Regions from separate parts of the Homo sapiens genome. Here regions 2, 3, 4, 5, 6 and 7 are each linked to region 1. Evidence: promoter capture Hi-C in 16 types of primary human blood cells and fetal thymus (Javierre and others, 2016). All regions are on one chromosome and are shown on one strand. Each heading gives the region's core, a stretch centred on a gene start or on the middle of the fragment in contact. The rest is flanking DNA. Distances are from core to core; before and after follow the strand shown.

Region 1 (3,875 bases), core at 633-3,132:
AGGAGATCGAGACCACCCTGGCTAACACGGTGAAACCCCGTCTCTACTAAAAATACCAAAAAAATTAGCCGGGCGTGGTGGCAGGCGCTTGTAGTCCCAGCTACTCAGGAGGCTGAAGCAGGAGAATGGCATGAACCCAGGAGGTGGAGCTTGCAGTGAGTTGAGATCATGCCACTGCACTCCAGCCTGGGTGACAGAGCGAGACTCCGTCTCAAAAAAAAAAAAAAAAAAAAAAAAAAAAAAAAAAATTCGCCGGGCGTGGTGGCTCATGCCTGTAATCCCAGCACTTTGGGAGGCTGAGGTGGGCGGATCACCTGAGGTCAGGAGTTTGAGACCAGCCTGACCAACATGGAGAAACCCTGTCTCTACTAAAAATACAAAAAAAAATTAGCCAGGCTTGATGGCTCATGCCTGTAATCCCAGCTACTCGGGAGGCTGACGCGGGAGACTTGCTTGAACCTGGGCGGCGGAGGTTGTGGTGAGCCGAGATCACGCCATTGCACTCCAGCCTGGGCAACAAGGGCAAAACTCCGTCTCAAAAAAAAAAAAGAAAAAAGAAATTGTCCCTCACATGTCTCTGCTTCCTCTGTCTGTCAAGGCAGAATATATTTCAATCTTCCTGCCTCAGGAATTGCGTGAAAATTAATGGGACAGAGGCCCAGCTGGCTTTCATCTGCTAAACAACACCCTTGCACGACTGGTGGTGCACATTAAATGCTGAACATATAAAATGTGCTTTGATGGAGGACCTGGGAATAATTATAGCTTGCTAATTATTGTTAATTTTACCACAGCTTTGAAACTCTAGACTTTCTCAATGACTCAAAAAGAGATTGCAACCCCTGTATGCCATGAAACTAGCCACACAGTGGCAGACAAGCAATTTCTCACAGGCTCCATTCTTTCATTATTTACATGGTTCAGCTACTTACGTGGGATACAGGAAAAGAAAAGCAACGATTTGCTGTGTTAGAATCAAATTGTACAAAAAACTCTTTACAGTCTTGCTGGCTCTTTAAGAATTTGTTCCTGTTTGTCTCTTTATAGCCAGTGCACAAATAAATATTATGTGCGTGTGTGCCTGTGTGTGTGCGCTTGTGTGAGGTACAGAAAATTAGTGTTTAACAGAACTTTTAACCCTCTGGACACCAGGATACCTGTGTTTTACCCTTGATATGGTGAGTAACAGAACTGCTTCCCTAACTTCCCTTCAGATTCTGTGTCACTTCGTGTCCACAAACACTTTATTTAAGGTCTCATCACTCCTAGGCAGGGTGCCAAAGACCCCTCTCAGAAATATGAGGAAGTTGATAGCAGTGTGACTTCAGGTCTTTAAGCCTCATCAGTACCACCTATAAAACGGGTCTGATAGTCCCTACCTGTCAGGACTGGTGTTAGGATGAGATAATGTTTGTGAACTGTAAACTATATAAACGTGTGCTACTGTGAGAACTGGACAAAGAAGAGAGGGAGTGAGAGAAATTAAGGGAGGGCTGGGGCTGGGAAAGAACGAAAAGGGAGTCGCGTATAGAGGAGAGCGCGACAGTCGCGAGCCACACTTTGCAATGAAACTCTTTAGACTTTCTGCCGGGAGAGCGGCCCAGACGCGCCAGGTCTGTAGCAGGAGGCCGCGCCGAGGGCGGGTCCCCAGAAGCCTACAGGTGAGTATCGGTTCTCCCCTTCCCGGCTTTCGGTCCGGAGGAGGCGGGAGCAGCTTCCCTGTTCTGATCCTATCGCGGGCGGCGCAGGGCCGGCTTGGCCTTCCGTGGGACGGGGAGGGGGGCGGGATGTGTCACCCAAATACCAGTGGGGACGGTCGGTGGTGGAACCAGCCGGGCAGGTCGGGTAGAGTATAAGAGCCGGAGGGAGCGGCCGGGCGGCAGACGCCTGCAGACCATCCCAGACGCCGGAGCCCGAGCCCCGACGAGTCCCCGCGCCTCATCCGCCCGCGTCCGGTCCGCGTTCCTCCGCCCCACCATGGCTCGGGGCCCCGGCCTCGCGCCGCCACCGCTGCGGCTGCCGCTGCTGCTGCTGGTGCTGGCGGCGGTGACCGGCCACACGGCCGCGCAGGACAACTGCACGTGTCCCACCAACAAGATGACCGTGTGCAGCCCCGACGGCCCCGGCGGCCGCTGCCAGTGCCGCGCGCTGGGCTCGGGCATGGCGGTCGACTGCTCCACGCTGACCTCCAAGTGTCTGCTGCTCAAGGCGCGCATGAGCGCCCCCAAGAACGCCCGCACGCTGGTGCGGCCGAGTGAGCACGCGCTCGTGGACAACGATGGCCTCTACGACCCCGACTGCGACCCCGAGGGCCGCTTCAAGGCGCGCCAGTGCAACCAGACGTCGGTGTGCTGGTGCGTGAACTCGGTGGGCGTGCGCCGCACGGACAAGGGCGACCTGAGCCTACGCTGCGATGAGCTGGTGCGCACCCACCACATCCTCATTGACCTGCGCCACCGCCCCACCGCCGGCGCCTTCAACCACTCAGACCTGGACGCCGAGCTGAGGCGGCTCTTCCGCGAGCGCTATCGGCTGCACCCCAAGTTCGTGGCGGCCGTGCACTACGAGCAGCCCACCATCCAGATCGAGCTGCGGCAGAACACGTCTCAGAAGGCCGCCGGTGACGTGGATATCGGCGATGCCGCCTACTACTTCGAGAGGGACATCAAGGGCGAGTCTCTATTCCAGGGCCGCGGCGGCCTGGACTTGCGCGTGCGCGGAGAACCCCTGCAGGTGGAGCGCACGCTCATCTATTACCTGGACGAGATTCCCCCGAAGTTCTCCATGAAGCGCCTCACCGCCGGCCTCATCGCCGTCATCGTGGTGGTCGTGGTGGCCCTCGTCGCCGGCATGGCCGTCCTGGTGATCACCAACCGGAGAAAGTCGGGGAAGTACAAGAAGGTGGAGATCAAGGAACTGGGGGAGTTGAGAAAGGAACCGAGCTTGTAGGTACCCGGCGGGGCAGGGGATGGGGTGGGGTACCGGATTTCGGTATCGTCCCAGACCCAAGTGAGTCACGCTTCCTGATTCCTCGGCGCAAAGGAGACGTTTATCCTTTCAAATTCCTGCCTTCCCCCTCCCTTTTGCGCACACACCAGGTTTAATAGATCCTGGCCTCAGGGTCTCCTTTCTTTCTCACTTCTGTCTTGAAGGAAGCATTTCTAAAATGTATCCCCTTTCGGTCCAACAACAGGAAACCTGACTGGGGCAGTGAAGGAAGGGATGGCATAGCGTTATGTGTAAAAAACAAGTATCTGTATGACAACCCGGGATCGTTTGCAAGTAACTGAATCCATTGCGACATTGTGAAGGCTTAAATGAGTTTAGATGGGAAATAGCGTTGTTATCGCCTTGGGTTTAAATTATTTGATGAGTTCCACTTGTATCATGGCCTACCCGAGGAGAAGAGGAGTTTGTTAACTGGGCCTATGTAGTAGCCTCATTTACCATCGTTTGTATTACTGACCACATATGCTTGTCACTGGGAAAGAAGCCTGTTTCAGCTGCCTGAACGCAGTTTGGATGTCTTTGAGGACAGACATTGCCCGGAAACTCAGTCTATTTATTCTTCAGCTTGCCCTTACTGCCACTGATATTGGTAATGTTCTTTTTTGTAAAATGTTTGTACATATGTTGTCTTTGATAATGTTGCTGTAATTTTTTAAAATAAAACACGAATTTAATAAAATATGGGAAAGGCACAAACCAGAAGTCGGCATTTGTGAAAAGTCCCTCCAGATTTCTATCACATTGGTCTCTAATTTCCCAAGACTTGTATTTTTTTTTTATTTCAAATTATAACACTTTTTTTTCCCCCAGAAGTGGGTGTTTCATGTTGCTACTCTGGTGTGTCCTAAGATATCCTAACTGGCCAG
Region 2 (3,875 bases), core at 440-2,939, 1.2 Mb before region 1:
TTTACATTTGTAATTTGTTTTTGCCTTGTAACATGTTTGTTGTTCTCTTTTACTAGTTCATGAGCTCTTCAAGATTGGGCCTTGCCCTTTGTATTTTCATTTCTGGAGCCTGGAATATCACTCAGCACAAAGTATATACTCAATAAAGGTTTTCCTGGCCAGGTGGGTTTACATATTTGGTTTCTATAAGCACTACATTAATGACTCCTAAAATAGCTATGTCTGTTTGACTTGTCTGTACAACACTCAGCATTCATTTCCCAGAAGGAAACTAGGTCACATCTGGGACACATGAAAAGTTTTAAGAAGAGTTGTGTTTGAAATACAAAACCCTGAAGTGTACACCAAAGATAACCTGATCATGCCAAAAAATTATAACTGATAAAAACTTTATTTCATTATTACATTTTTGGTCTTTGCTCTTTTACTTCTTTATTAAGTTTATAGTAACAGAATGATTTACACATGTTGAAAAACAAAGCAGGATGAAAAAGGCAAAAAGTAAAGCAAAACATTTTACTTTATGAGTCTCTTACTTTGTGAATTCTCTCCTATGCTGGTTATTTTGTTTGGTTCTGAGGACAATTTGTGCACAAAAAATCCGAGACATCTCCATTCTCCTGTAAAAAACAAAACAAATAAACAAACAAACAAAAAGCTTGTGCTCAAAAGAGAAATTTAAAAATTTTTTAAATATCTGATGCTTTTATGAGGGTTTTCTGTTTTCTCGATAAAGAGGATCTGAGTGAAAGGGTCTCTCCTGACAACGATAACAAGTAGAATACTTTTTGTAAACAAGAAAGGCATTTTGAATATCTGACTTTGTTGGTTTCCAGGACCAACAACAGAATTTGCTGGATACCCATGAACCTTTCACTGTGCCTATGCTAGACACTGTGAATAATATACTTTGGGGGCACTGGTTACTTTATTGTTAAAGTCATTCTTCAACTTGATCTTTTCTTGTGAAAACAAGGTAAAATTTCTTTTCTGAGGGAATAGCATTTGAAAATTGTAAATCATGCAAAAAAATGGTTAGGCATGTAAGAAAAATGGCCATTCCATTAATTATGTTCATGTCTGCTCACTTCCACTCTATACCCAAGTTCACAAAATGACAAGTGAAAAATCATGTACTTGCCTTTTACTGTACTATTTTCCTTTAAATCTTACTTAAACCTAGAATAGTATTTTATGTCTTCCATACATACTAGCATTGTTGTTTTCCAGGCTTGCTGAGTTGAACAGACAATCCTCATTGTCTCTCTTTCTTCTGTTCACATTCCAAATTTGGGAAATGGGATCATCTGACACAAAGGATCTGAATCTTGTGTCTCAGATTTTTGTGAAATCTGCTTTACCTTGTCTTATTCCCTTTTCTTCAAATTTATCAGCATTTATTGAATATCCACTATAAAGATGCCTGCCTCTGTGCAGGGCCTGTAGTAGGGGTTTAATAATGAGACTCTATTTTCTCCAACTTCTTCCATTTTATAAATATTCATTTTATCAATCAGGGCTCTAGTCAGAAAGAGAGTGCACACCCATAGCTGACAGCATGGAAGGTGATATGGTATGGCTCTGTGTCCCCACCTAAGTCTCATCTTGAATTATACTCCCATAATTCTCACATGTTGTGGGAGGGAACCGGTGGGCATTTTCCCCATACTGTTCTCATGGGAGTGAATAAGTCTCATGAGATCTGATGGTTTTATCAGGGTTTTCCACTTTTGTGTCTTCCTCATTCTCTCTTAGCCTGCTGCCATCCATGTAAGATGAGAATTGCTCCTCCTTGCCTTTTACCATCATTGTGAGGCTTCCCCACACACGTGGAACTGTAAATCCAATTAAACCTCTTTCTTTTGTATATTGTCCAGTCTCAGATATATCTTTATCAGCAACATGGAAACAGATTAATACAGTAAATTGGTACCAGTAGAGTGGGGCATTGCTGAAAAGATACCCAAAAATGTGGAAGCAACTTTGAAACTGGGTAACAAGCAGAGGTTGGAACAGTTTGGAAGACTCAGAAAAAGAGAGGAAGATGTGGGAAAATTTGGAACTTCCTAGAGACTTGTTGAATGGCTTTGACAAAAATGCTGATAGTGATATGAACAATAAGGTCCAGGCTGAGGTGGTCTCAGATGAAAATGAGGAACTTGTTGGGAACTGGAGCAACAGTGACTCGTTTTGTTTCAGCAAAGAGACTGGCAGCATTATGCCCCTCCTCCAGAGATCTATGGAACTTTGAACTTGAGAGAGATGACTTATGGTGTTTGGTGGAAGAAATTTCTAAGTAGCAAAGCATTCAAGAAGTGATTTGTGTGCTGTTTAAGGCATTCAGTTTTAAAAGGGAAACAGCGTAAAAGTTTGAAAAATTTGCAGCCTGACAATGTGATAGAAAAGAAAATCCCATTTTCTGAGGAGAAATTCAAGATGGCTGCAGAAATTTGCATAAGTAATGAGGATACAAATGTTAATCCCCAAGACAATGGGGAAAATGTCTCTAGGGCATGTCAGAGGTCCTTATGGCATCTCCTCCCATCACAGGCCCAGAGGCCTAGGAGGAAAAAGTGGTGTTGTGGGCTGGGCCCAGTGTCCCTGAACTATGTACATTACCTAGGGACTTGGTGCCCTAAGTTCCAGCCACTCCAGCCATGGCTGAAAGGGGCCATTGTAGAGCTTGGGCCATGGCTTCAGATGGTGCAAGCCCAAGCTTTGGCAGCTTCCACATGGTGTTATGCCTGTGGGTGCATAGAAGTCAAGAATTGAGGTTTGGGAACCTCTGCCTAGATGTCAGAAGATGTATACTAGGGCAGTGTGGAAGGGACCTCTGCTAGAGCAGTGTGGAAGGGAAATGGGACTAGAGTCCCTTCTGGGGCACCACCTAGTAGAGCTGTGAGAAGAGGGCCACCGACCTTCAGACCCCAGAATGGTAGATCCACCAACAGCTTGCACCATGCACCTGAAAAGCCACAGACACTCAATGCCAACCCATGAAAGCAGCCAGGAGCAGGGCTACACCCTGTAAGGCCACAGGGGTGGAGCTGCCCAAGGCCATGGGAACCCACCTCTTGCATCAGCATGACCTGGATGTGAGACATGGAGTCAAAGGAGATCATTTTGGAGCTTTAAGATTTGACTGCCCTGCTGGATTGCAGACTTGCATGGGGCCTGTAGCCCCTTTGTTTTGATCAATTTCTCCCATTTGGAATGGTTGTATTTACCCAATGTCTGTACCCCCACTGTATCTAGGAAATAACTAGCTTGCTTTTGATTTTACAGGCTCATAGGTGGAAAGGACTTGCCTTGTCCCAGATGAGACTTTGGACCATGGACTTATGAGTTGATGCTGAAATTAGTTAAGACTTTGGGGGACTATTGGGAAGGTGTGATTGGTTTTGAAATGTGAGGACATGAGATTTGGCAGCAGCCAGGTGTGGAATGATATGGTTTGGCTCTGTGTCCCCACCCAAATCTCATCTTGAATTGTATTCCCATAATTCCCACGTGTTGGGGGAGGGACGCAGTGGGAGATAATTAAATCATTGGGGCAGTCTACCCCATACTGTTTTCATGGCAATGAATAAATCTCACGAGATCTGATGGTTTTATCAAGGGTTTCCGCTTTTGGAACTTCCTCATTCTCTCTTTGCCTGCTGCTATTCTTGTAAGGTGGGACTTGACTTGCTCCTCTTTGCCTTCCGCCATGATTATGAGGCTCCCCAGGCCACATGGAACTGTAAGTTCAATTAAAGCTCTTTCTTTTGTAAATTTCTCAGTCTCTGGTATGTCTTTATCAGCAGCATGAAAATGGACTAATACATAAGGCAACTGCCCATCAGGAGTTGTAGTCATAAAAAGAGCAGCTACAG
Region 3 (3,875 bases), core at 968-3,467, 1.2 Mb before region 1:
CATAGGATATCATACAGGAAATAGTCTGTAACAACATGGAAAATTTGCAAAAGGTTCTCAGCTTGAGCTACAACCCAAAATGAAGTTGTGTGGTTATGCATGTGTGTATTATGTGCAATAAAAAACTAAAAAAGCAAGTTGTTAGGTATAAGGCATGATTTTTAAAAATCCTTAGTGACCAAAACACATTTTAAAGCATTTGACAGTTGCTTAAATTAAGGCATATTAACACGTACAGAAGATTGACCTGAAAGTGAGTTTTTTTAGTTCTACCAGTGTTTTTTTTTTTTTTTTTTTTTTTTCAGAAAAACATCTTGTGTTTGTGTATTTATTCACTTATGGAATACCCATTACGTGCCAAGAACTGTTTGGGTACAGAGAACAGGCTATAAGATACTCTGAGCCCTCCAAGAGCTCACAGGCCGGTGGCCGGGGGGAGGAAGAAAAAAGCAGGTAAGTAAATCTAAAGAACGTGATTATCCTCAGGCCTGGGAGAAATAGCAGATCATGTTGATATTAAAACCTAAGCATTCTAGCTTGCTAACTCACATGCTGATTTGGTGCATTCTTAAAGCTGGGCGTTTCCAGGGTTGCCTTACGATATTTTTACTGCTCCTCTTGGAACTTATACTCCCCAGTGCAACTGGCAACAACACAGATTATGCTCTGAATATAAAGATCAAATGCCCAGTCTGGATCTTCACAAGAGAGGGCGTCCCTTCTGGATGCCTCACTAGGACTCCAGCTCACTGTGGCATCGGGTCCTGTAGTTTACTGTAGCTCTGCAACATGCCACTCCATTCTGTCATTCTTGTCTTTTCTTCCTCACCTCCCCCAGCTTTTGTTCTCTTTGGCTCTTTTGAAAGCCACATTTATGTTCTTCGCATATGGGAAGTATTTTTGGTCAAAATTTAAAACCTGTAATGCGTTCCTTGGCAAAATGATTTGCTAAGCAAGTCTGGCTTTAACTTGAAAGAAAAGCTTTCAGTAGGCAACAAAACAAAAATCTCACAAACCACTCTGGCCACACTGCAATTCTTATTCATCAAAGCTAAATATACTTTACATGCATGTATTAAATAAAACCACCTTTCTCAGTGCAAGGAGGTGTGTATTGGAGTGATTAAAATTTTTATTACTGAGCCACACGTGGTTTCTAATAGAATTATATATAGACATTTATATTTTTTCCTAACACGGTGGCTTTATAGTAGGAACCAGAATGATTTTCTTAGGGATTAACCTCCTAGCTAGGAGGCAGAGAGAACCATGGAGAAACAATATTTGTAGAGTGCCTATTGTCTGAAAGGCATTGTGCTAAGGGCTTTATCCACAGTTCTTTCACTGAATCCTTACCACCAACCCTAGGAGGTAGGTAGCAGAATGATCCCACCACAGAGGGAAAGACTGAGGCTTAGACAGGTTAGCTATGTTGCCCAAGGTCTTTCAGCCCTTCTCCTTTCTATCAAGCTGCTCCTCACTGTTGAGATGCCAAAGGTGTCCTAGTGTTGCCATGTGTTTTTGCCTAATTTCTGTGTGTTTTCCTTTCTCTATAAAGCAGTGAAAACTCAGGTCAGGTTTGGTTTGGATACGAGTTTGCTTGAAAGAATGGCCAGCACCCGGAGCTTGGCAATCAACAACATGAGCACTGCAACTAAAGAGCAGGTGGTGGGCAGGATTCCTCTCCAGCTGTTACAGTGGGGTGATACCTAAAGTTTTGCATCCAGGCAGATCTGGATTTGAATCCTATCTCTGCTACCATCTGGTGACTCTGGGCAAAGTGTCTATCTTTTCTGAAACTCAATTTTCTCAACTATGTCTTTTCTGAAACTCAACTTTCTCAACTATAAGGTGGAGATAATGCTGCCTACCTCACAGTGCTGTAGGAGGATTGGAGAGGACATACAACAAGGACTTGGCAGATAGTTGGTAATTATTCATGCTTTTATGTCTGCCTTTTGTATCCACAGACAACCACCGCATTCACCAGGGTTTTGTGTGAGCAGGTCCAGGCCTGCCCGTTTCTCAGTGAGTGATAATCAGCTTTTGCAGCTGAAGCCTGTTTGACCATAGACCTGACATCTTGCTTAGATCCTGCAATACCCGACTCCTCTTCTGTAGTGATCCCCAATCCTCCTTTATCCCTAGTGCAACCTCTGGCTAGGATCTATGAATGCACTGGGCTTCCTTCTGCTTTTAGGCCAGCTAGATCAGACACGCACACCCACCTTCACTCGGGGCTATGCCTAAGGTCCCTATATCCTTTGGATACTGTAGAATGCTATTGCAGAGCTGACCTTCATAACTGGGGTGCTCACCCTTCTCCATGCTTACTACAGTTACTATTTTGAGCATCTTCTAGGAGCAGAGCCCTGTAATAACACAGGCATGGACCATGCAATTGAGCCGAGTGCTTTATATGCATTATCTCCTTTAGTCCTCATTATAATCCTGTAAAGTAGGTACTATTAACATATTCAGGCCAGGTGCGGTGGCTCACGCCTGTAATCCCAGCACTTTGGGAGGCCGAGGCGGGCGGATCACGAGGTCAGGAGATCGAGACCATCCTGGCTAACATGGTGAAACCCCCGTCTCTACTAAAAATACAAAAAATTAGCTGGGCGTGGTGGCGGGTGCCTGTAGTCCCAGCTACTCGGGAGGCTGAGGCAGGAGAATGGCGTGAACCTGGAAGGTGGAGCTTGCAGTGAGCAGAGATCAAGCCACTGCACTCCAACCTGGGCGAGAGCAAGACTTCGTCTCAAAAAAACAAAAACAAAAACAAAAACAAAAAAACCAACAACAACAACAACAAAAAAAACATATTCATATTCAATACCTATTCATTTCAAAATGAGGAAACTGAGACTTAGGAAGATTAAGGACCTTTCTCCAAGTCACCCATCTAGTAAGAGGTAAGACCAGGCCTAGGATCCCAGGCCAGGGCTCATAGCTGTTACACCATATTGTTTTTCATCCCACCTTCTCCTTCCTCCTTTTCTGACTGATGGGCTCCATGCAGCAGGTACTTTTTTTTTTGTAATTGTAGCATTTCTCATAATGTACTGTCATCAATCTATTTGTCTATGTCTCTCATTAAACAGGGAGGTTCCTGAAGGCAGGGGCCATGTCTTATTTATTCCTGTAGACCAGTGCTTACCACAACATGTGGCACAAAGTACTCCAGAGGATGTTTATTTACTGAATTATATTGGCTTTTTCTTCTCTACCTGCTGTCTTTTGCTGAAGTCTTAGCATGTCCTCTACCCACACTCATTTGAGCTATGACAGCTCTCAAATCAACGTTAGCAGTTACTCTTGGGTCTGAAATTATGTGTGGGTGTTGACATATTTATGTATGTATATGTATGTGTATGTCTGTGTGCGTTTGTGTGTCTGCTGTGGTATCAACTAAAACAGCTAGTTTTCCCAGTGCTTGTCTACATCAAAAGCTTTTAGCCATCAGGTTTCTTCAGTTTCCTTTAATCTGGAAACTTCCCACAGCCTTTCTTTGTCAGTATGACATAGATATTTTTGAAAAATATAGTCCATTAAAAAATAAAATGCTTCCCATGTTGCGTTTGTCTGATGTTTCCTTCTGATTAGATTCAGGCTCTGCATTAAAATGCTCTTTCTTTTCTCATATCTGGAGGCACACAATGTCCATTTGCCCATCTGAAGTTGATTTGGATCACCTAATCAAGATGTTGTCCTATTTCTTCCCTGTATACTTAACGTTCTTTTTCCTCTTGTAACTAATAAGCAAATTCTGAAGAGATATTTTAAGATTATGCATATATCCTGTTATTCTTCAAAATTCCCTCCTGGATCCATCGATGATTCCTGCCTATACCTGTCTTTAATATGATGATTGTGAA
Region 4 (3,875 bases), core at 647-3,146, 1.2 Mb before region 1:
GAGAGAAAAAGAGAGTGGGAGAGGTCTTTATCATTACTCATGATATGAAAACTGGCACCTCATTTATAATTTTAAGTACACTATGTGCACACATTTACATATCTTTAGAGTGTTGACTATATGGGTGTATACTTCATCAAAATTCATCAAGCTGTACATTAATATCTTTGTATTTCACCTTATGTGTACTATATCTCAATTTAAAGTTTGCAAAAGAAAATGAGAAAACAGAACTGCATGTCAGTATATTTATATTTTATTTTATTTTCAATTATAAAAATGCCTACCAAGAGAAAAAAAAATTTTTAGACGCCCAGTCCTCTAATTTTGACTCTAAAACATACCTCAAATTGGTCTCTTGGTCATAAAGGAGGGGAGGAGTGGAAGCTTTATAATTCTGTAGGAAATGGAGGCATTAGCAGAAAGATACTGGGTTTTAGAGATAAATGGGCTTGGGGTTGGATCCAGGCTCTGCTACTTATCAGATGTGTGAATCAAAGCTCAGTTTTCCCATTTATTAAGTGGGAATAATAATATCTACTCAGTGTTGTTGAAAATTCCAGTATCCCATTCTCTGACCACTACTGCCTAACTGGTCTCTTGACTTCCACTTTGGTTCCCCTTATAGCAGTCAGGACCAGTCTAGGTGATTTTTCAGAAGCAGAGAAAATAAAGGGCAGTGATTAAAATACAGACTGACTATAACAGACTGCCAGAATTTGAAACTGGATTTTTACATTTACTAGCTGTATAATCACGGAATAATTACTTAATTTCTTCATGCCTGTTGCCTCATCAGAAAATGGGGATAAAAATATGCCTTTCATAGGACTGCTATGAGAAGCACGTGAGTTATTTGAGGTAAAACACAACAATGCCAGCATATAGTAAATGCTACATAAACTTTAGATATTTATTATCCCTTTAGCATGCAAGCTCCATGTGGCCAGGGGTGTGTATTGGATTCATGCACCACACCAAGAACTGTGCCTGGCCAGAATAGTTAATCTATAAGGATTTGTTAAATGAATCAATGAATGATTTTACCTCTCTGGGCTGTTTTTACCTACAACACTCCTGACACCAAATGTATGGGTTTTTTCCTCACACTCACCAATTCTCCAACTCTCCTGCCACCAATTGCATGACTTATAATTAAATTTGATTCAATTCTGACACTGACCCCAGTTAGTTAGTGTCAGACCCCACAGCTTCAGGGCTCAGTCCAGCAAGACTGCCCACACTTCAGATGCCAATCACAAGTCCTGGGTCTCCTGTATTTCTGACCAACTGACCGCAAATTGGAGGTTTCCACAAACTCCACCCCCCAAGGCTTGATAATTTGCTAGAATCGGCTTATGGAGTTCAAGACAACGGTTGACTTACTATTACCAGTTTATTATAAAGGATAAAATTCAGGAACAGCCAAATGGAAGAGATACATAGAGCAAGGTATGAGGGGAGGGAGGTGCAGTGGTGCAGTGAGCTTCCATGCCTCCTCCAGGCATGCCATCCTCTCAATACCTCCCTGTGTTCACCAATCCAGAAGCTGTCTAAACCCCATCATTTAGGGGTTTTTATGAAGGTTTCATTACTTAGGTATAATTGAGTAAATCATTGGCCATCGGTGATTGACTCAATCTCTAGCCCCTTTCTCATTCTGGAAGGTCAGGGGAGGGGCTGAAAGTTCAACCCTCTAATCATGCCTTGGTCTTTCTGGTGACCAGCCCCCATCCTGATGCTACGGAGGGGTTCTCAGCCATCAGTCATCTCATTACCATACACATGGAGCTTAATCTAAGCTCCATAAAAGTGAAGTCCTTGGCTTTCCTTTCTTTGAAGTATCCCTAGCTTTTAGCAGGGATTCCAAGAATTTTAGAAGCTGTGTGCCAGGAACTAGGGACAAAGACCAATATTTATTTTTTAACACGTCCTTGCAACAGTGTTCCATCGCTTTTTGAATAAAACTCAAATGTCATAGGGTGGACTAGAACTTCAGGATGGAGTTTATGCAGATGTCTCCAGTCTCATCTCATGCCCTGCTTACTGGGCTGGCCATGCTGGGAACACACTGGCCATCTTGCTGCTGGCTGAACATGCCAACCTTCCTCCTGCCTAAGGCCTTTCTGAATCTCTCAGGAATGGTCTTCTCCAGGATCTTTGACTGTCTGGCTTTTTCCATATGATTTAGGTTCTCTTCAAACATAATATTGAAAAGACTGCCCTTGGCCACTCTTAGCAGAAGCAGTGCACTCTCCTAAACATCTATGACATCATCTCATTTTCTTTTCCTCATAACCCTTGATAGCACATCATCATCTGAAATTATATTTTTAATTGTTTATTGTCTGCCTGCTTCTCTGTGGTCCTCACCTCTGCTCTCCTCCCTCCTGAATCTAAGCTCCATGAAAGTGGAGTCGTTGGCTTTCCTTTCTTTGAAGTATCCCTAGCTTTTAGCAGGACATTTGTTAAATGTAAGGTGAAAGTGCAAGTTTATTGAATGCCTATTTTACGCAAGGTACTGGTATACAGATCTTGCCTCCCTTGATCCTCACTAACAGTCTCTGAGGAAGGTCTTATTATTTAAATTTACAATGAGGAAATAAAGGCTCAGAGAGGTTAAGTACTTGCTTAAGCTAGTAAAGGGCTAAGCCAGGATTTGAAACTTGCTTTAGCTCATGAATAAGACCAGGCCCATTCCTTAAGAAGCTCACAGTCAACAGGCAGATCTCCAGCTTTAGTTCATGACAATTTATTTTCTTCTGATGACTTTGGGGCCCTGTAAAGCCCTAAAAGCCTGCTTTCTTCACTGTCAAAGACAAATTCAATTATGGTCATTATATTGTGCTTACAAAGGCAGGAAGGTGGATTCACTGATGTATAGAATGACTGTTCATATTAATTATTGAAACAAACAAAATTACTGCCAGCTGTATGACCCTGAGCAAGACCCTTCCCCTCCCTGGGACTCACTTTCTTTATCAGTAGAATGAGGGGGTTGGAGTAAATTATCTCTGAAGTCTTTGCCAGCTCTGCAATCTGTTGGTTTTGTGCACATGTGGTTTTCTGATTAACTCTCAGTTGACAAGTTACTCCTTATTCCTCACGGTACATTCTATTAGGGTTTTGCTCAGCACACTCCGACAGAGAATATACCCACAGTGTTTTCCTAGCAAGGGAAAGTTTCATTCCGATTCAGTCATGGGCAAATACGGCACAGGGGAGTGGTTTTATACTAGGTAAGGCCATCAACCTCTGTTGTGATACTCTGAGATGGGGTCCTAATATATGGCCTGGCTGCAAAAGAGTTGGATCCAAACATGAATAGGGAGCAAGTATTCATCCCATCTACATGAGTTTGACTTACTTCTTATGGATTTCTCAAAGTAAAAATAGGAAGCTTCTTGCTAAAAGCATCAGACAGATGATAGGTTCCAAAACTGCAAGCTGTCACTCATCTAATAATCTATTGTTGACTGGAAAAAAATATGATCTTGCTGATATGTGAGGCTGAGAAGGTATATAGTACTGCCGTGAGCTGTAATTAAATAATAGTAACTCAATAACAATAATTATAATGGCAACTGATATTTGTTGAGTACTTACTATGGCCTAGCACTATATTATTAAATACGTTACCTAGTTTGTATTCCCAGTTCAAAGACAAGAAAACATATGGCTTTGGAACCTATACTTTTAAACATTTGCTGTGAAACAAAGACTTCAGTGATATTTAGATCATAATCCAAACCCTAGTTCTGCCATGAACATCCTGAGTCTCAATTTCCTCATTTTAAAAATGGAAATTTTAGGCTGGATGCAGTGATTCACACCTGTAATCCCAGCACTTTGGGAGGCTGAGGTGGGAGGATCGC
Region 5 (3,875 bases), core at 698-3,197, 1.2 Mb before region 1:
GGAAGCTCGTCGCGGGGATTTCAGGGTGCAAGAATTGCATGTTCCTGTGACGTCTCTGGTTCCAGCAGGAAAGCAGCCGGCAGCATGAGACCAGTTAGGAGATACCGCAGTGGTCTAGGTGGGGGCGACAGTGGTCTGCATAAAGTAATCAACTAACCAACTAGCTAAGCTCCTGAATACCTTCCTTCCCTTCCCCTTTCTTGCCCCCCTTTCCTCTATCTGCTTTGGTATCTCTGACCCCCCTTTTCTCTCAGCAGAAGGTAGAGGACAGAGTGATAAGAACTCCACCCTGCTCAGTTTGCCACAACATAGACAGACTTTGCCATTCCTCATCTTCATCTCTGAGGTGCCCTCCCTGCACTTCCCCATTCAGGATCATCCTTTTCTGTGCCTGCATGCTGACAGGGAGCAGCTGCTTGTATCTAGAACAACTCCCAGCTGTTCTTCCAACTTTTCTTAAGTGTTTCTTAGTGTCAATGCCTCTAATTAGTTAAAATAGGAAGGGGGGTGGTAAACAGAGGAGCACAAGAGAGGCCTAATTTTAGCTGTAGCCAAAAGGACTTTCCCCTAAATACACTGTGATCTCAAAATACTTAGCTAAGCCCATATGTACATGGCGGGGAGAGAATTTAAAGAGCTACAGAAGTAAAATTCTCTGGTCAAATGGGACAGCTCTGCCTCTTTGTACAACTGGATTAAAGAGAAAAGGAATGAAAATAAACTGAACCCTCACTCTGTGCCAGGAACTGGACCAGATGCTTTGTGTGCGGCAACTCAGCAATTCATTTAATCCTCACAGCAACTGGATGATGACGGGACTGGTATTACCTCCATTTTACAGATGAGGAAACTGAGGCTCGGTGAGGCTGATGCTACTCTGTGCAAGATGACACAGCTAATGAGAGAGCAGGATTTAAATCTGGGTCTCTCTGGCTTAACTGTATCTAGCAAGAGGAAGATGGGGCCTCAAACCTAGGATAAACAGGGCATTGGGAAGAGAGCTTAAACAGGGATTCGGAGCAGGGGATCAGAGCCAGATTCCAGGGGATTCTGACTCTTAGAACACTCAGAGGCATCATCATAGAAACTAGCAGGACTTACTCAGTGCCTCAACTTTATCCAATCCAGAAATCCCTCCTGGCCCTCACAAGGTATGCTGGAGGAATGACCAGACTGTCACTAACAACTTACAGGTAGATAAATCATATGGAGAATGCCCCCCACCCCCATCTCCTCTTCTCACTTCAGCAAAAAAAGGAAAGACAACAACAAAAAACAACTAACCCCACTGCTTCCTGTAATCAAAGGAATACGAACTGGCTAATCACCCAACCCCCTACAACCTTCTTAAGGTTAGGGGAAAATCTGGGCTCCTTCAGAAAAAAGGCCACCTGATAGGACTCATGGCGTCAGCTTCCTTCATCTCGGTTCATGCTTAAAAGGCCTCTTCACCGGGAAGCTTCCCAGTGAGGTTTTCCACGCACATCTGGACACTTTCCACAATAGGCCTTTGAAGAGGCCTGAAGTATTCCGGGAAAGTCTGCCTCACTGGGCTGAGGTTTAAAGAGCAGAAGCCCACATTTATTTTTCTTTCCCGCCTTCTTTGACAAAACTCCCCTCAGTGGTTTGTGGGCATTTGCAAAGCAGCCCTGATTTTCAGCTTGCTACTTCTAGGGCTGAAATCTTAAAGAAAATGAACAACAATAGAGCAAATTCAAAAGAGCATGGGTATCATCAAAGACTGTTTATGTGTTCTGCTCCTCCACCAGACTCTGAGTCGTGCTTAGTCATCTTTGTAGCAGGGAGAAAATGGACCTTGGCCTCAAGCCGACTTGCTCCATCACTCAGCATTGGTGACATTTTGTCGAGTCACTTAAACTGTCTGAGGCTCAGTTTCCTGACCTGTGAGTTAACAGGGGCCTGCCTTGCGTGGGCTACTAAACGTTCATGAGGTGGGTTAAGTAAATCACTTTGCATGTTGTCCGACATGGACTTTGACAGGTCTGTGCTGTCTCCTTGGCTGGGTCCCTCTCCACTATACAGGCTAACAGCTACTCATTGTTTACAACTCAACTCAGGTGATGGTTTTCTTCTCTGGCAATGCTTTACCTCTACCTCCCTCTTGCTTGGGCTAGATGAGGTATGTGTCCTCAGTGCTTTAAAACTTCCCTATTCTCTGATCTGTGGTTTATTGTTATTTTAGTTGTATGTCCACCATGCCCTGCCCCCACACCACTGTAATAATGTAGGCACCTGATGTCTTTCCACACTAAGCACAGTGCCTGGTATAACAATATGCTCAATGACTGCCAAGAGATTAATTAGTCTATTAGCAACTATTTATTGGCCCGCTTACTTTGAGTCAGGTGCTATTCTGGCTACTGAAGCTGTAGCTATGAATAAAACAGACATGGCCCCTGCTTTCATAAGCTTACATTCCAGTAGGGAAAGTCAGCAAGTACATTAAAGACATGTAGAGACTTGTGGTTATAGCTCCAACATGTAAAAACTGTCTAAGTCATTTATCCCATCCTTACTCCAAAAAAAAAAAAAAAAGCTAAGAAACTGCAAATCAGTGATTTTTGTTGGATCCATAAGAGAACTGAGGTTACAGGACAAACTATCACCCTGAAATCTGAAGAGAAAGGACAACCCAGACAGTCACAGCTGAGATCTTACTTGGAGGAGCAGCTGCTGGAGTCATAAACTGGTAGGGACACTTCAGTGGTAATTTGAAGTGTTGGGGGCTGAGTGTGGACTAATAGGAAAGCGAGCAACTCCTGAGGGTAACAGTCTTAGTGGAAGGGGGCCCACACTTTCATCGGTTTTACCTCCAGGAATCCAAAGAGTCAAGAATGATCCCCTCTTGGCTCTGGCAGGGGGAGGGAAAGCGTAAACACTGTAAAATATTTTTTACAGTGTTTTTCCATAACACAGAGTTCTCCATAATAAAGACCTTTTAAGAGGAAGAGACTTTACAAAAGCCTATTGCACACAGGGGAAGGACATCTCTTCAACTCTAGTGCCTGCAAGCCTTCTGTCTCACCTAAAGGAGTAGGGGCCTAAGAACATCTATGAAGGTCATAGCTCAGGGACATAGTCCCACTAAAAGACAGATATAATCAAAAGATTATAGAATGCTTTTCCTTCCCCATACCTTAAAACCACATCGACATGACCCCAGTATAATATTAGTGAATTACAGCTCAAAGAGCAGCAAGACATAGACTCTATCTAAGGAGGAGATCTTAGGGACGCCAAAGACAATAGTGGGGATGAAAAAATAAGGACAATAGAAGAATGTGAGGCCTCTGGCATGTACAACTATAACAAACATTAAACACAGTTCAATTTCTAACACAAAATGTCACATATAGACCTATTTGTCTCAGTTCCTATTACCAGATACATCATATCCATGTTTCAACAAAATATTAAAAGGCATGCTAAAAGGCAAGAAAAACACAGTCCAAAGAGAGAAAGCAAGAATCAGAACCCAACTCAGATATAACACAAATGTTAGAATTATCAGATAATTTAATGCAACTATGATTAATAAGTGTTCTAATAGAAAAAGTAAACACTATGCACAAACGGACAATGTAACGAGAGACGAAAATGCTAAAAAAGTATCTAAAAGAAATCCTAATAATAATAATAATGATAATAATAATAAAAAGACCAACAGAAACAAAGAAGGCCTTTGATGGCCTTAACAAGGACAAGGAAAGAATCAGTGAATTTGAAGATACATCAGTTAAAAACTTCCCAAACTGATATGCAAAAAGAAAAAAGAATGGAGGGAAACACCCAGGACACCCAAGAAAAATTTCAAAACGTATAACATATGCATGGTTAGAATATGAAGATAACAA
Region 6 (3,875 bases), core at 844-3,343, 1.1 Mb before region 1:
TGATAGGAAACTGGGAAAGGAGGTAAAAAGAAAGGGAATACCATGCTAATAAAACAGATGTATTAAGTATCTCCTGTGTGCTAGGTACTATGCTAGGCATTTCATATATATTATATATAAGATACTGGTGACTAACACAAGTTCTGGAGTCAGGCTGTTTGATTCAAATCCTAGTCCTACCTGTTACCAGCTTTGTGGCCCCAGCTAACCTACTTAAAATAGGTTTTAATACCTTTGGCTTATTTCCTTCATCTTTAAGTTGAGATAATTTAAAGCAGAGGCAAACTTTTTTCTATGAAGGGCCAGATAGTAAGTATTTTAGGTTTTATGGGCCATTTGGTCGCTGTCACAATTATTTAACTCTGCAGTTGTAGCACAGTAGCAGCCATAGGGTCTATGTGAATGAATGGATGTGATTGTGTCTCAATATAACTTTATTTTCAAAAACAGTCAGTAGGCAAAATTTGGCCTGTGGGGAGTAGTTTGCCAATCTCCAATATAGAATCTATTTCCTTAGGTCTGTATGAGGATTAAAAAGTTAACATAGACTGTGCTCTTAGCACAGTGCTCTGCACATAGTAATTACTCAACAAATGTTGGCTGTTGTGTATATAATGGACCCATGGAATAGGTGTTAGTATGTCCCTTTACCGGGAAGCAAACTAAAGCTCAGAAGTAACTGAACAGTTTCTCCAAGATCTGACATCTCATAGTGGCAGAGTCAGACTTAGAGCACAGGCTTGACTGACTCTAAAACCAGTAGTTTTCTCAGCCATTTTTAGCCAACTTAAAGTTTGTATTAGAACCAAGACCAAATTTCATTGACCCAAGGGGAACCAAGTGTTTCGGGACTTGACTTAGACACTGGCAACCTATCAATTGATTAAATTGGGCTGCGGATCCCAATGAATGTTGCTGGAAAGCACACAACTTTTTGCCTTTGAATCCTGATTCCAGTCAGTAGGGAACAGGTGTGGAATTCATGTTCACCACCCTCTAAGGGTACTCACAGTCTTAGCCTTCCTTGGTCTCAGCATTGGTTTTTTATGGTACCAATGGATCAGCTGCTTTTGGTGAGCTCTAATTAAGTGCACAAATAGGGCAAGCTTCCCAAATCCCACATTAGTTCTGCTTTGGAATGCCAGAACTTTTCTACCATGGAAAAATGCTTCATGCCCTGACTCTTAACAAACCCAGCAAGTTCAAATGCATTTCTGGGAGGGACAAGAATCCCAAGCTGTTATGTGAGAAGGCAACGAAAGAAAGGGCTTTTCTTGAAAGGGGGAAACAAAGGGCATCCAGAAATGTCACCAAAATGCCCTGCAAACTCTCAAGCTTGCTCCAAGTTGTTCTTTGAAGGCCTCGGAAGTATGATGCATGTAACTCTTTCCTGGGTCAAGGATAGCATACTTAAACCTGAGAATCTGAAGCCAGTATCAGCAAAGATTTCTTTTCATATGTCAAATACAAGGAATAAAAAGGAAAAATAACTCATGCTAAATGGCACAGACTTTGTAACTTTCAAAACTCTCCACCTATTTGACTTGTTATTTCTCTCTCCTCTTCCTCTTTTCCTCATTTTCTTCCTTCTCCTCCTCCTTTTCTTTTCTACACTCACTCCAAAGTCCCATCTAATAACTGCTTGATTCTAGGGGGACTCTCTGGTACTGTAGCTGAGAAGACATAGTAATGGTTGTTTTTATGCATGTGAATTTAACAGCAATCAGCTGTTTGTTTTATATTTAATTCCACATGTGCCAGAGTAAAACCATTTAGGCTATAATCCCCCAAAGACACCACATGTCTGTCTATTCCCAGAGTTCAGTGGACCATTGTGTTGACATATTTTCCCTCATCAAAGGAAAGAAACTAGCTTGGCCTTCAACTTGATGCTCCCAGAGACAAAGCAATGATGGAAGCCACAAAGATTCACCCACCACTAGGTCTTTGAAGTCCCAGATCTAAGTAGATCCTACAGGCTTCATGCTGGCACCCAACCCAGGCCTCTGGTAAGACAGACATAATCCTTCCACTGGTCACCATGGCTTCCTGCCCAGGGAAAGAGCAGGCTCTTTGGGACTTTCTAGCTCAGGAGAGCTGAAGGGGCCTTCATTTAAGGTGGCCATAGTTTATTATCCCAATGAACTCACCTTTGAGTCCTAGACACTTTTTGGAAGGAAAGGGAATGTTATTATTAATAATTATGCCAAGATTAAGACATTAGCTAGGTCTGTCCTGGATATATTATCACCCTTCCACTTCATTTCCAAGGAGCTGCTGATGGTTTGGAGAAATGATTGTCATTGGGCACTTCTCTCTTAATGATGGTAAGAAACAGAAGTTTCAGACTTCAAATTTTGATTTTAATGCCTCTATTCTGTGTTGCTTCTTCTGAAAGATTCTACCAGATGTTTTAGACTTCCAAAAAGCAAAGATATACCTAGAAAATACTGAAGTATGCAACAAATACTAATTGTATCCAGGGCGGAAGCCTTTCTGATGATAGTGAAAGGGGAAGAGGTTCCAGCCCCACATGTGGGAAGGGCCATCTTCTTGAAAGTCTTAGAGTAGGAGTTCTCAAACTTTGGACCAATAAAATATTCAAACTTTTTGGAGATCTACAACATAATTGTCAGCTTTTTATTTGATTATATAAGGACTTTAAACAAAGCAACTGCTCCATATTTACTCTCACCATTATTTCATAACCAAAAGGAGATTTTAATACCAAAAAAGTGGTTATCATGATATCAGAATAAAGGAGAATCATTTAAATAGTCTACATTTAATTTTGTTAAAATCTCAATACCCTGTCCTTATTGTTTCATTTCTCATGGACTAGTGAAGCTTTGTGAAGGACCTGCAGTGGGGACCAGCTGCACGAGTGTGTCACCCATTAAATTGGTGCCAGTAGAGTGGGGTGTTGCTGAAAAGATACCCAAAAATGTGGAAGCGGCTTTGGAACTGGGTAACAGGCAGAGGGTAGAACGGTTTGGAAGACTCAGAAGAAGACAGGAAGATGTGGGAAAGTTTCGAACTTCCTAGAGACTTGTTGAATGGCTTTGACAAAAATGCTGATAGTGATATGAACAATAAAGTCTAGGCTGAGGTGGTATCAGACGGAGATGAAGAACTTGTGGGAATGGGAGCAAAGGTGACTCTTGTTATGTTTTAGCAAAGAGAATGGTGGCATTTTGCCCCTGCCCTAGAGATTTGTAAAACCTTGAACTTGAGAGAGATGATTTAGGGTATCTGGCATAAGAAATTCCTAAGCAGCAAAGCATTCAAGAGGCGACTTGGGTGCTACTAAAGGCATTCAGTTTCAAAAGGAAAACAGAGCATGAAAGTTTGCAAAATTTGCAGCCTGACAATGCAATAGAAAAGAAAATCCCATTTTCTGAGGAGAAATTCAAGCCGGCTGCAGAAATTTGCATAAGTAACGAGGAGCCAAATATTAATCCCCAAGACAATGAGGAAAATGTCTCTAGGGCATGTCACAGGTCTTCATGGCAGCCCCTCCCATCACAAGCCTGGAGGCCTAAGAGGAAAAAGTGATGTTGTGGGCCGGGCCCAGGATCCCCATGATGTGTGCAGCCTAGGACTTGGTGCCCTGCGTCCCTATAGCTTGGCCTGTGGCTTCAGAGGGTGCAAGCCTCAAGCCTTGGCAGCTTCCATGTAGTGCTGAACCTGCCAGTGCACAGAAGTCAAGAATTGAGGTTTGGGAACCTCTGCCTAGATTTCAGAAGATGTATGGAAAAACCTGGATGCCCAGGCAGAAGTTTGCTATAGGGGTGAGGTCCTCTTGGAGAACCTCTGCTAGGGCAGTGCAAAGGGAAATGTGGTGTCAGAGCCTTAACACAGAGTCTCTACTGGGG
Region 7 (3,875 bases), core at 1,011-3,510, 1.1 Mb before region 1:
GGGGGCAATGCAGAGTTATTGTTTAACGGGTAAAGTTTCAGTTTTGCAAGATGAAAAGAGTTCCGGAGATGGATGGTGGTGATGGTTGCACAATAATGTGAATGAACTTAATACCACCAAACCGTACACTTAAAAATGGTTAAGATGATAAATTTTATGTTATGTGTATTACAAACAAACAAAAGAATACAACCAGGACCACCTCCTCCAATGGTGATTTACAATTATGTACAATGTTCTCTTGCCTGGCACAATATGAAGCATGACCTTCAACATTTTCAAATTTTTTGAAGTAAAGGTATTTTTGTGGTATTTCCTCGCCACTTTTCTGGAAAGCAGTACATCTGGAGGTAAAGGGTTTTTTTTTTTCATGTAATTTTACATTTGCGTGTTTCATATGGATGCTTGTCCTGGTTTGATCAGCAACGAGCTCTCTGGCCATGCACAAAGCACTTCCCGTTTCTGGGTCTCAACTTCCTCATCTGTAAAAAGAGGGTTTGTGTGGGATGATCTCTAAGGGCCCTTCCAGTTCTCAGTTCAGATTCCTATTTTTCCAAATGCTAATAGTGTCTACACTCTTAGGTACACATTGCTTACTATTAACACTCATCAGATCCTTTTTGCGAGCCACTCGTCATTTCAGAAATACCTGCACTTGCTGCACTTTTCCTGGGGGCTAGACAGAGAGATGAAGGACACAGTGTGAGGTAGGTAGACAGAAAGAAAACAATTGAAAGGCCTCTTGGAAGGAGCACTGGACTGGGAGTCTGATGCTATGAGGTTTAGTCCTGGGCCCCCGCCACTTGCTCACCATGTGAATCAGGGAGGAAGAAAGCATTTACTGGGGCCTTTTATGCATGAGGCACTTTTATACATATTATCGTACTATTTCACACATTTTAGTAATTCAGGTCCTATCTTCACAATTATTTTCTTTTCTCAAGTACTACCTATAGTATTGATTAGTCATAAAATATTTCTTTAAGTCCTGGGAAAAAAACTTTTCTTTCTTTTTAAAATTTTCTAGGGAAAAATGTTCATGAAAACCCAGGTTTAATGCTAGGTACTTTTCTAGTATCTATTAAAACTTAGAAAAAGGGTGTCTATAAACCAGGACGTAGAATGCCTGAATGTCACTGGTGGTATGTCTGTACATTTTGGAAGATGACACTTGATCTTATTTTATCTCCATTTTTGGCTGCTGGTGCCCATGGAATTCAGCAACTCATCCAATTTTGAACCAGCAGAACTCACAGCAATGTGCTGGTTCATATTTCTCTCACTTTTAGAAGGAATATGTTCTAGAAAGTTGCATACACAGAACTTCCATGATTTTTAGATTTCATAGATGGCAACACTTCCAAAATGACTTGGGAGACTGACATATGGTTAGAAAGTTTTTATTTTGCTAAGAAGAAGCTCAAAGTTTTCTCTGACAAGTAATATATAAAAAAAAAACCCACAGGACTTTCTACATCAAATGGTTGGGAGGGGGACATCTCAGGATAATATGTCATTTAAGAAGAAAAAAATTAGCTTAAGGAAGAACTCATGACATTCTGCTTACTCTTCCGTATTTCTGACTAGTAAAAACCCTGTTATGGACCAGCCACGGTCCAGGCCCAGCACTGGTTGACCACAGTGTAATGGGCTTTGGAATCAGGCAGATCTGAAAGTCCTGGTTTTGTACTAACTACATGTACAGGGTTGGGAAACCACTTATCTCCCATGAGCCTCAACTTCTCATTTGTAAACTGAGGATACTGCTCATTGCCGTCAAGATTATATGCAATAAATTTGTAAGATGCCTAGCACAGTGCCTGACTCATTGAGTAGGAACTCATTAGGTCGTAATGACCACTTAGTAACTTTTACCACTCTCATTGCATCTACCAAGAAAGGTTGTCATGAGGATACAACATGGAATGCATGGGCGAGTGTGTTGCAAGCTCCTATGTGTCCTACAGCTGTAACTCCTCCTTTGGGTCTCCACTTAGAAGTTATTTTCCCTGGGAAACTCTCCTTGACCCACCAGGTTAGGTAAGAAGCCGCTGCTCCCGGTGTCATGGCACCTGTCCTCTCCATCTTTTCACTTGTCATTGCAATAAAATTAGTGGGCAACTTTTCCCTCTCCCCAGTAGGCCCACCAGAACTCTGAGAGGGTAGAGAATATACTAGTCTTGCTTGTCATTGTTTCTCCACCATCTAGCACATAGTCACTGCCACATATAGAACTCTTTTAATTTGTTAAATAGATACATGAATTGATGGAAGGATTAGTAGGAGTTTTCAAACCTGTTTTGTGGTACTATGCTTAAGGCTTGATTGTCTTGGCTATGGGCTTACATCAACATTTCCCAATTTTGGTACTTGAAACTTTAGCAAAGTAAGATGCTCCATGAAAAACTAATTCTTCGATCAAGTAAATTTGGGAAACACCATACTCTCTATGCCTATCCAACCTGGGAGATTCACAATGCATGTTTACATTTTAAAGTCTTAACAGATGCCTTGCTATGAAGACGCCTAGTTAGAGCTGGGTACTGTGAAGTACATCCATAGTCCCAGCTACCTGGAAAACTGAGGAGGGAGGATTTCTTGGGCACAGAATTAGAGTCCAGCCTGGGCAACACATTGAGACCCCATCTCTTTAAAAAAAAAAAAAAAAGACACCTAGTTATCTTGAACATCATAGCAGTTTTCAAACTAATTTTTTCCAGAAATACTTTTTAATATATCGAAGAAGACTCTGAGAAATCCTGGCCTGTGGAGACCTTGGTCTCTGAGAAAATATTTCTCATGGTTTCTACCAATTCTTTGTCCTGGTTGTCCCTTTCCCATTGAAAACTTCATAGCCAAGGATCAGAGCAGGCATGCATACTGGGCATGACAAAAAAGGCTATGTAGACAATGGAAACTTTGAGAAAACTGATAAGACATGTGAACCAGTCCACGAACTGACCAAAAGTATTTTGACATTGACTATGGAGGTCCTCACTTGTATCACATGGAGCTTTCAGTATTTTATTTATTTATTTATTTATTTATTTATTTATTTATTTATTTATTTAAGACGGAGTCTTGCTTTGTCGCCCAGGCTGGAGTGCAGTGGCGTGATCTCAACTCACTGCAAGCTCCTCCTCCCGGGTTCACGCCATTCTCCTGCCTCAGCCTCCCGAGTAGCTGGGACGACAGGCGCCCGCCACTGTGCCCAGCTAATTTTTTGTATTTTTAGTAGAGATGGGATTTCACCGTGGTCTCGATCTCCTGACCTTGTAATCCGCCCTCCTCAGCCTCCCAAAGTGCTGGGATTACAGGCGTGAGCCACCGCGCCCGGCCATTTACTTTTTTTGAGACAGGGTCTCACTCTGTTGCCCAGGCTGGAGTGCAGTGGCGTAACATTGGCTCACTGCAACTTCTGCCTCCCAGGTTCAAGCAATCCTCCCACCTCAGCCTCCCGAGTAGCTGAGACTATAGGCATACACCACCACATCCAGCTAATTTTTGTATTTTTTGTAGTGACAGGTTTTCACCATGTTGCCCAGGCTGGTCTCAAACTCCTAGGCTCAAGGGATTCACTGGCCTCAGCCTCTCAAAGTGCTGGGATTACAGGTGTGAGCCACCGAGCCTGGCCAGCTTTCCCAGTTCTGTGCACGTATATGACTTCAACTGCTCTTCCTCCTCCTCTTCCTTCCTCTTCTTCTCCTTCCTCTTCTCCTTCTCCACCACCACTACCATTACCACCAGCTTTCACAGTTCTATGCACGTATATGATTTCAATTGCTCTTTCTTCCTCCTCTTCTCCTTCCTCTTCTTCTTCTCCACCACCACTACCATTACCACCATTAATATGTATGACACGCTGCCTGTGCCAG

The links. The method cuts DNA at HindIII sites, captures the fragments that hold promoters and counts their contacts. A CHiCAGO score of 5 or more calls a contact.
Region 2: a contact is called between a fragment that was not itself captured here and the fragment with the promoter of TACSTD2 in region 1, in 1 of 17 cell types (monocytes). The highest score is 5.4, in monocytes.
Region 3: a fragment that was not itself captured here is called in contact with the fragment with the promoter of TACSTD2 in region 1 in 9 of 17 cell types (total B cells, M0 macrophages, monocytes and 6 more); the score reaches 8.6 in total B cells.
Region 4: a fragment that was not itself captured here is called in contact with the fragment with the promoter of TACSTD2 in region 1 in 12 of 17 cell types (total B cells, monocytes, naive B cells and 9 more); the score reaches 9.7 in total B cells.
Region 5: a contact is called between a fragment that was not itself captured here and the fragment with the promoter of TACSTD2 in region 1, in 6 of 17 cell types (total B cells, monocytes, fetal thymus and 3 more). The highest score is 9.6, in total B cells.
Region 6: a fragment that was not itself captured here is called in contact with the fragment with the promoter of TACSTD2 in region 1 in 8 of 17 cell types (total B cells, neutrophils, naive CD8 T cells and 5 more); the score reaches 9.5 in total B cells.
Region 7: a fragment that was not itself captured here is called in contact with the fragment with the promoter of TACSTD2 in region 1 in 2 of 17 cell types (neutrophils and total CD4 T cells); the score reaches 8.0 in neutrophils.

The regions. Positions count from the first base shown.
Region 1 is chr1:58,575,259-58,579,133 of GRCh38, reverse strand. It overlaps TACSTD2 (tumor associated calcium signal transducer 2), which reads left to right and starts at 1,882. Exons shown (of 1, transcript NM_002353.3): 1 at 1,882-3,701. The coding sequence starts at 1,978. The coding sequence ends at 2,949. RefSeq lists enhancers at 1,724-2,418, 2,419-3,114. The HindIII fragment of the contact is 7,313 bases long and covers 1-3,875 here.
Region 2 is chr1:59,785,364-59,789,238 of GRCh38, reverse strand. It overlaps LOC105378758 (a long non-coding RNA gene), which reads left to right. Exons shown (of 5, transcript XR_947426.3): 4 at 57-162. LOC101926944 (a long non-coding RNA gene) reads right to left here. Exons shown (of 3, transcript NR_110627.1): 3 at 407-620. Among named protein-coding and RNA genes, the nearest start is that of HOOK1, 28 kb to the left of the region's middle. The HindIII fragment of the contact is 2,058 bases long and covers 661-2,718 here.
Region 3 is chr1:59,763,340-59,767,214 of GRCh38, reverse strand. No RefSeq gene overlaps it. Among named protein-coding and RNA genes, the nearest start is that of MIR4711, 32 kb to the right of the region's middle. The HindIII fragment of the contact is 2,468 bases long and covers 984-3,451 here.
Region 4 is chr1:59,746,729-59,750,603 of GRCh38, reverse strand. The region is part of intron 14 of FGGY (FGGY carbohydrate kinase domain containing); the gene reads right to left. Among named protein-coding and RNA genes, the nearest start is that of MIR4711, 15 kb to the right of the region's middle. The HindIII fragment of the contact is 3,013 bases long and covers 390-3,402 here.
Region 5 is chr1:59,728,989-59,732,863 of GRCh38, reverse strand. The region is part of intron 14 of FGGY (FGGY carbohydrate kinase domain containing); the gene reads right to left. Among named protein-coding and RNA genes, the nearest start is that of MIR4711, 2.4 kb to the left of the region's middle. RefSeq lists an enhancer at 1,653-1,947. The HindIII fragment of the contact is 971 bases long and covers 1,462-2,432 here.
Region 6 is chr1:59,712,440-59,716,314 of GRCh38, reverse strand. All of the region lies in intron 14 of FGGY (FGGY carbohydrate kinase domain containing), which reads right to left. Among named protein-coding and RNA genes, the nearest start is that of MIR4711, 19 kb to the left of the region's middle. The HindIII fragment of the contact is 1,512 bases long and covers 1,338-2,849 here.
Region 7 is chr1:59,693,484-59,697,358 of GRCh38, reverse strand. All of the region lies in intron 14 of FGGY (FGGY carbohydrate kinase domain containing), which reads right to left. Among named protein-coding and RNA genes, the nearest start is that of MIR4711, 38 kb to the left of the region's middle. The HindIII fragment of the contact is 5,575 bases long and covers 1-3,875 here.